Linked DNA regions of Homo sapiens: region 2 is linked to region 1. Evidence: promoter capture Hi-C in 16 types of primary human blood cells and fetal thymus (Javierre and others, 2016). All regions are on one chromosome and are shown on one strand. The core of a region is centred on a gene start or on the middle of the fragment in contact, and the rest is flanking DNA. Distances in the headings are between cores, read along the strand shown. Region 1 holds the start of CNBP (CCHC-type zinc finger nucleic acid binding protein). Region 2 overlaps RPN1 (ribophorin I).

Region 1 (4,607 bases), core at 845-3,344:
TACACTATACATTACTTCAAGATACTATGAAGGTTAATCAGATTACAAAGGGGAAATCATAAAGCTGAGTAAGCTTCTTGGTAATAAAACTATATAAATACAAAATACTGTTTTTTATTGGCAGATAATATATCGTGTTTTAGCACAACACATAAGCTGCTAGGCATTTATTCAATCTGATTGGGAATGGGTTAAATTTGGTTAAAAAATTTTACCTTAGGTTGCTTTAATTAAAAAAATGTTTAAGGCTGAGTGCAGTGGCTCACACCTGTAATCCTAGCACTTTGGGGGCACTGGGTGCAGTGGCTCACACCTGTAATCCTAGCACTTTGGCCTAGCACCGCTTGAGGCCAGGAGTTCAAGACCAGCCTGGCCAACATGATGAAACCCCATCTCTACTAAAAATACAAAAATTAGCCAGGCGTGGTGGTGGGCGCCTGCAGTCCCAGCTACTCAGGAGGCTGAGGCAGAATTGGTCAAACATGGGAAGCGGAGGTTGCAGTGAGCTGAGACAGCACTCCAGCCTGGGCAACAGAGGGAGACCCTGTCTCAAAAAATAGTAATAAATAAATTTAAAAAGTTCGGCCAGGCGCGGTGGCTCATGCCTGTAATCCCAGTGCTTTGGGAGGACGATCACCACTTTGGGTGGGCGGATCACCTGAGGTCGGGAGTTTGAGACCAGCCTGACCAACATGGAGAAACCCCGCCTATACTAAAAATACAAAATTAGCCGGGCGTGGTGGCGCATGCCTATAATCCCAGCTACTGGGGAGGCTGAGGCAGGAGAATCACTTGAATCCAGGAGGCGGAGGTTGCAGTGAGCTGAGATCGTGCCATTGCACTCCAGCCTGGGCAACGGAGTGAGACTCCGTTCTCAAAAAAAAAAAAAAGTTTAAAATATCATTGGTCTTTAAAGTTATACATTCATTCTTTGATAATTGCTATGTTGAACGCAACCTCCTAACTGCTTTACAATGATTAAGCACTAATGATTTGAACCCAGGTTTAAAGTCTGACTCTCAACACATGTGCTCTGCCTTCTCACGAACATGATTTCAAAAATCATAGCCCCGGGATTTGGGATTGGTGGCTTATGCCTGTAAACCCAGCGACAGAGCAAGACCCTACTCTTAAAAAAAAAAAAAATTAAAGAAAAAAAGAAAAATAAATCATAGTGTTGAACTGGCAGGTTTCACTGAGACGAAACTTGGGACTCTTCCTTTTTTTTTGTTTCGAATAAAGCCATTCTAGAATGAGACAAAATTCTAAAATATTTTATAGTTAACAGTTTAAATTGGGTTTAATCTTGACAAGACTATCTAGGGCTATATACACAAATCTCTTTTGGAGAAAATACCACAACTAAACTGAAGTCTATTCCTGAATATGACAGACCAGGTCAAATGGTTATCCTTGCCCTCCCGGGGGATGTCACTCATAAACGTGCCAAAAGTCACAGTCTAGGCCCCATTACCTTACATGCTCATGACCTTCCCAGGGAGGCCCCTCGCCCTTACCAGGCACTTTCATCTTGGGAAGACACATCAGTCCTGGCGGAGAAAGCAGCAAGGCCTTTCCCCGGCTCACAAAAATTAATACAAATCTCAGAGGCTGCATCCCACAGCCGTGACCACCGTGACTTGGCATCCCCTTTTCTGCAAACTTAAATGTTATCTAGAAATCGGGCCTGGCTCTGAAAGCCAAGGGCCTGGCAGGAGCCCGAGAAAGGGGAGAAACTTTCTGCGGCCCCAAGCTAATGGCAGTCACTGCACCGAGACCCGTCCCCTGGCATCCCTTTGCTCCAGCTGGCCAAGACAGACCACCAAGGTCAGCCAGATTTCCACCCAGTCTGGCCGGGCCCGGACCCAGCTGGGAATGAACCGAGAAGCACCGGGACCCGGATCCCGGCGTGAAAGGCCGCGCGCGGGGCACGGCGGGAAAAGACGCTGCGCGCAGAAACACCCGCCCCGCGCCGCGCTCTAGTGGGCGGCCCTGCCGCGGGCGGCTCTGATTGGACTGCCGAACCCCGCGCGCTGATTGGCCGCGTGGGCGAGGCGGAGGAGAGCCGTGCGCAGCGGCGTATGTGGGGCCGTGTGCAGACCCGCGTGTGGCGCAGGCAAGGACCCTCAAAATAAACAGCCTCTACCTTGCGAGCCGTCTTCCCCAGGCCTGCGTCCGAGTCTCCGCCGCTGCGGGCCCGCTCCGACGCGGAAGGTGAGGGCTGGGGGAGGGGCCCGGCGCTGACGGAGCCGCAGTGCGGGTCGGGTCTGTGGCGGACAGAGAGGGTAGGGAGCGGCGAGGTGGCGATGGCGGCCGCACTTTGGCCTGCGCCTCTGCTGCGTCAGGCGGGAAGCTCGGCTGCTGCCGCCGCCTCGGACCCGGGTTTCTGGCGCACCGCTGTCGGACGACACTTCTGTCCTTTCTTCGTCCTGGAAAGCTGGGTCGCCGAGCATGCGGGTCTTTCGGCGCCACGGCCGCACCCCAGGCCGCAGGCTTAGGGCAGAGGAGGCCCGCCCGTGCGCCCTTGGGGCCGAGGCCCTGACGCTTCGAGGGTCGCGGAATGAGGGACCGAGGGTGGATTTGGCGGGAACTCACTGGAAGGAGTCCGTGTGGTGGGGAAAGGCTCCCGGCTGCGGATGAAGGGGGGATGGGGTGGGTATAGTCGTGCAGGCCATGTGCTGGGGTCGTGCGCCTGGCGGGCCATGTGCCAAGGGTTTTGGGGGCCTTAGAAAAGGGTTCTTAGGCCGGGCGCGGTGGCTCACGCCTGTAATCCCAGCACTTTGAGAGTCCCAGGCGGGCGGATCACGAGGTCAGGAGTTCGAGACCAGCCTGACCAATATGGTGAAAGTTGGTCTGTACTAAAAATAAAAAATTAGCCGGGCATGGTGGCGGGCGCATGTAGTCCCAGCAGCTCGGGAGGCTGGACAGGAGAATCGCGTGAACCCCGGAGGCCGAGGTTGTGGTGAGCCGAGATCGCGCCACTACACTCCAGCATGGGCAACAGAGAGAGACTCCGTCTTAAAAAAACAAACAAACAAACAAACAAACAACAACAAAGGGTTCCTGAAGAAGCCTTTGTGTTTGGAGTGGCGAGACTGCTGGAAGACTTGGGAGCTTTTAGAGTTTATACTCCCTATCCTTGATAGTTTTCCGATTCTTGAATTTTTATCGTCATTTAAATACTAAGTTGCTTGTGTTACATTACCATTCCAAAAGGGGCTGATGGGGCTCACATTCCAAGAGTTAACACTATTTAAGTTGCTGGGATCCTTTAAAAGCGCCATTACCAGAAAAAACACGAATTTGTCAAACCTCCAAAACCACAGCAGCGGGCGGTAGTCTGCATCATTTCTTGGATTAATGAAACAGATGTAATTACAAACGAGACACGAAATTCAACTAGCTCCCCTCCATCTAGATTTTTCCATATCGTGAGAACCTGTTTTAGAATGGCATAATGGTCCACATTTGGGTTTAGGTGTTGATTTTATTATGGGTAAGGCTTGTGCTTGTTCCCACATGTTAACCATATGGCCTCAGCCACAGGGCACTTCCAAAGGAAGTGACTGTTTCTGGTCTTGGGGGTCTTGTAAAAAGAGAACATTGCTCAGTAATCGTCTGTGATTTTAGCTAGTGTGTTTCAGGCATTATTCAGAAGGACTCAGGTGAGATAAGCCAAAACTGAATTTGTTTTTTGTCTTTCTCAAAGTGAAGGAGGTCTAATGAATATCCCCATCTTGCTTTTAAATTACATTTTTAAAAGTAGATTTTTCCCCCTTTCCTATTGTTTGACCCAATTTTGGAGTGAAACGTAACCAGTTACTATTTCCATTCGAATTTAAATTAGCAATTTTATGTTATTTGTTTGTTCAAGCAGTATAACTGGAGTGTAGAGCTTTGAGGGTTTCAAAAAGATAAGAGATATAGTACTTATCTCCTGGGCTTCCCCCTCCCCCCTCCTAAATAGTTTTAAATGCTTCTAATGAGTTACTCTGGTTAAGGATAATCAAACACCTGTAAACTGCCAGGATCCTAGGTACATGCTGTTTTTAGTTTGTTGAGCCTGATTCTTGTCTACAAGAGTTCTTTGTGTATTGGAATATAAAAGGAATAATTTATTACATTCCCAAGGGCAGAATTAAAGACTTAAGTTTTTCCGATTTCATCTCTTGATAAGTTTTTCTTTAAAAAAATAACAGTTTGTGTTTTTCTGAGGAACCAAAGGTCCTCTTTTTTTTCATATTGGTAACAGGAGAGGTAATGTATTTCAGATGGTGCAGTCTGTAAAATATTTTGAACCAAATCAGTGGAAGACCAGGGGTTTTTCTTTTTTTTTTTCTGAGACGGAGTCTCACTCTGTCGCCCAAGCTGGAGTGCAGTGGCGCGATCTCGGCTCACTGCGACCTCCGCCTCCCGGATTAAGCGATTCTCCTGCCTCAGCCTCCGAAGTAGCTGGGATTACAGGCGCCCGCCGCCACACCCAGCTAGTTTTTGTATTTTAGTACAGACGGGGTTTCACCATGTTGGCCAGGCTGGTCTCGAACTCCTGACCTTGTGATCCGACTCCCTCGGCCTCTCAAAGTGCTAGGATTACAGGCAGGAGCCAC
Region 2 (4,113 bases), core at 612-3,111, 540 kb after region 1:
AGGTTCTGATTTGTCTTCTGAATTATCAAAGCAAAATTAAATTATGTGGCAGCATTTAACAACTTGTAAAATGAATGTGGGAATGTTGATTTGAGATTGTGTAGATGGGCTGGGGGGAAGGGAGATTAGGAGATTAATAGGAAGAGATGCAGTAGTCTAGGCACATGGTATTGGTTTGAATGGAGGAGGAGGCAAAGGAAGGGATGGGTCTGAGAGGAATTTCTGAGGCAGGATTGCCCAGGTATTGGGGACAGGGCAGAGTGAGGCATCAGAAGATGCCTGGGTTTCTAGCTTAGAGTTGATCAGATGGCAGTGGTATTAAGAGAGATCAAGACTTGGGATCATGAATGATAAGGTTTTGTTGAATTGCATGTGGGGTGGTCAGTGGAGCTGTCTAGTAAACATTTGAAAATTTGATTTTAGAATTCAGGACAGAGAGTGGGATGAGAAGCACATTTGGGACTTGAAACTAAGAATTGGTTAAGACTGTCCTGAGGAGAAGATTCCGCTACTTATATTTTGAGTAGTGAACGTCACAGTTGTAATATGAAATATAATGGTGTGACTGATAAAGACATGCAAGTTTTGTGTTCTATAAAGTCATATCAGGAAGAGTGATCCATGTTCTCACCTTTGAGGACAAACTCATTGAAGCTTATTAATTCAATTTTTCACTAGTGGTTTCTACGTCTTCTAAAAATTGTTCTCCTGGCTTGGAAAACTGATTCAGTTTAGAATTAGTACCCTGTGAATTTTAAGTTTCCAGGCCATCTGTTTTTCTTTTTTTTCCTTTTTTGAGATGGATTCTCGCTCCGTCACCCAGGCTGGAGTGCAGTGGCACAATCTCGGCTCACTGCAACCTCCGCCTCCCAGGTTCAAGCAATTCTCCTGTCTCAGCCTCCCGAGTATCTGGGACTACAGGCGCCTGCCACCACGCCCGGCTAATTTTTGTACTTTTAGTAGAGACAGGGTTTCACCTTGTTGGTAAGGCTGGTCAGCCATCTGTTTTTCTTTAAAATATTAGTAGCTTTATTTTTTTCTTGATATGAGGATGATACAAGCTCCTTATAAGACAAATTAGGGCCTGGCGCAGTGGCTCATGCCTGTAATCCCAGCACTTTGGGAGCCCGAGGCGGGTGTATCACCTGAGGTCAGGAGTTCAGACCATCCTGGCCAACGTGGCGAAATCCCCTCTGTACTAAAAACACAAAAATTAGCTGGGCGTGGTGGCGGACGCCTGTAATCCCAGCTACTGGGGAGGCTCAGGTAGGAGAATCACTTGAACCCAGCAGGCGGAGGTTGCGGTGAGCCAAGATTGTGCCATTTCACTCCAGCCTGGGCTACAAGAGTAAGACTCCGTCTCAAAAAATAATAATAATAAAAAATAAAATGAAATTGGAAAAGACAAACTAAACTTATTCTACAACCTTGAGACAGTTACCATTAACATTTTGTTGAACATTCCTTGAAATACTATTCTTTACATTCATTCATTTTTTTTTTTTTTTTTTTCTTGAGACGGTATCTCGCTCTGTCGCCCGGCTGGAGTGCAGTGGCACGATCTCGGCGCACTGCAAGCTCCGCCTTCCGGGTTCACATCATTCTCCTGCCCCAGCCTCCTGAGTAGCTGGGACTACAGGTGCCCGCCACAACGCCCGGCTATTTTTTTTTGTATTTTTAGTAGAGATGGGCTTTCACTGTGTTAGCCAGGTTGGTCTTGATCTCCTGACCTCGTGATCCACCCATCTCGGTCTCCCAAAGTGCTGGGATTACAGGCGTAAGCCACCCTCCCCGGGTCTATGTATGTTTTTAAATGGAGTTATTCTTTGTCATTTGTAAACAGATTTTCGTTATTTACATTGTACATGGACATCTTTCCATGTTAATATAGATATGTAGGTTAGCCATATTTCTAATGACTGCCAATATTCTATTGTGTGAAGCCATATTTCTAACGACTGTCAGTATTCTGTTGTGTGGTTCTATTAAAATTTTTTTTTTTGAGATGGAGTCTCTCTCTGTCACCCAGGCTGGAGTGTAGTGGCGCTATCTTGGCTCACTGCAACCTCCGCCTCCCGGGTTCAAGTGATCCTCCCACTTCAACCTCTCAAGTAGCTGGGACTACAGGTGTGCACCACCACGCCCAGCTAATTTTTGTATTTTTAATAGAGACAGGGTTTTGCCATGTTGGCCAGGCTGGTCTGGAACTCCTGACCTCAGGAAATTCACCTGACTTGGCCTCCCAAAGTGCTGGGATTACAGGCATGAGCCACTGCACCCAGCCAAGAGATCACCTTTAATATAGTAATTTAAGTCTTTTATTAACAGGACATGGTGGCAGGTGCCAGTAGTCCCAGCTACTCGGGAGGCTGAGGCAATAGAATCTCTTGAACCTGGGAGGTGGAAGTTGCAGTGAGCTGAGATCATGCCACTGCACTCCAGCCTGGGCGACAGAGCAACACTCTGTCTCAAAAAAAGAAAAAAATAATTTAAGTCTTCTAAGACAGATATGTAGCTGTTTCTCTCAGGGCTGTTTATAAATAGCAAGAGTGTAAAACAGTGTAAATGTTCAACAATGGAACAAAAGTTAAAAACATTCTAATAGGTAATCCCAGCTATTCGGGAGGTTGAGGCAGGAGAATCGCTTGAACCCAAGAGGTGGAGGTTGTGGTGAGCCGAGATCGCACCATTGCACTCCAGCCTGAGTGATAGAGTGAGACTCCATCTCAAAAAGGAAAAGGTGATCTCTTAAAGATAATTGCTTTTGTCTTTGGTTCAAAATTTTGTTGTGACTTTGAACTGCTACTACTGTTTTCAGTATCCTCAGTCTCTCTTACTTCTCTTGCCTTGTTCTTCCTTTAGTGGGAGATTCTTCACAGTCAAGCTCCCAGTTGCTCTTGATCCTGGGGCCAAGATTTCAGTCATTGTGGAAACAGTCTACACCCATGTGCTTCATCCGTATCCAACCCAGATCACCCAGTCAGAGAAACAGTTTGTGGTGTTTGAGGGGAACCATTATTTCTACTCTCCCTATCCAACGAAGACACAAACCATGCGTGTGAAGCTTGCCTCTCGAAATGTGGAGAGCTACACCAAGCTGGGGAACCCCACGCGCTCTGAGGACCTACTGGATTATGGGCCTTTCAGAGATGTGCCTGCCTATAGTCAGGTAAGCTCAGGTGGAGTCCAGCCCATCCCTGTCTGCTTCAGAGAATGTCTTGCAGAGTGACTACTGGTTGATAGGCTTGGGTGGTGTGGGGTGGATGAAATCTGCAGTCATTTCTAAGGTCATCCCAAAAGTGTTTAACCTGCAGTGAAATGACTCCATGGGGGTCTTGTTTCTCCTTGGGGGATCACAGGTAGAGGCTAGGGGTAGCATTTGGAGAGGTGGAATGGGTGTTGGAGATGGAAGCAAGGCATTCCACGCAGAGGCAGTAAGAGGGACAAAGGCTTTGAGATGGTGTGGCTGGGCAGATACTGGGGTAGCAAAGCTGTTGGAGTGGTTGAGGGCCTTCCTTGAATGTTGGGCCTTGGTTGGAACTTGAAGAGAGAGGGAGCAATTAAGGCTTACAAAGATTTTGTTACTATGGCAAATCGCAAACATGCCAAAGTACAAAGACTAGTATAAACTCCCACACACGTCACTTAGATTCAGCGGTTATCAGGTTACCATAATTAACCTACCTCTTTTTTTCTTTGGTGGAGTACTTAAAAAAATTTTTTTTTTTAAGAGACAGGATCCTGCTCTGTTGCCCAGCCTGGAGTACAGTGGCATAATCATAGCTCACTGTAACCTCAAACTCCTGGGCTCAGTCCATCCTCCCAGCTCAGCCTCCCATGTAGCTGGAGTGACAGGTGTGCGTCACCATGCCCAGTTAATTTTTTATTTTTGTTGTAGAGACGGGATCTTGCTTTATTGCCCAGGCTAGTCTCAAACTCCTGGGCCCAGGTGATCTTCCTGCCTTTGTCTCCCAAAGTGCTGGGATTACAGGCATGAGCCATGGTCCCTGGCCTTTTTGCTAGAGGATTTTAAAGCAAATCTCAGCAGTCATGTCTTTTTACCTACTTCTATACCATCTCTAAAAAATATGGGTATTTTAGACGTTTAAGATT

What was found. The method cuts DNA at HindIII sites, captures the fragments that hold promoters and counts their contacts. A CHiCAGO score of 5 or more calls a contact.
Region 2: a contact is called between a fragment that was not itself captured here and the fragment with the promoter of CNBP in region 1, in 1 of 17 cell types (naive CD8 T cells). The highest score is 5.0, in naive CD8 T cells.

What each region holds. Positions count from the first base shown.
Region 1 is chr3:129,181,383-129,185,989 of GRCh38, reverse strand. It overlaps CNBP (CCHC-type zinc finger nucleic acid binding protein), which reads left to right and starts at 2,094. Exons shown (of 5, transcript NM_003418.5): 1 at 2,094-2,214. It overlaps LOC105374101 (a long non-coding RNA gene), which reads right to left and starts at 1,916. Exons shown (of 2, transcript XR_924469.3): 1 at 1,518-1,916. RefSeq lists an enhancer at 1,671-1,760. The HindIII fragment of the contact is 13,108 bases long and covers 76-4,607 here.
Region 2 is chr3:128,636,855-128,640,967 of GRCh38, reverse strand. It overlaps RPN1 (ribophorin I), which reads left to right. Exons shown (of 10, transcript NM_002950.4): 3 at 2,863-3,169. Among named protein-coding and RNA genes, the nearest start is that of RPN1, 12 kb to the left of the region's middle. The HindIII fragment of the contact is 2,410 bases long and covers 657-3,066 here.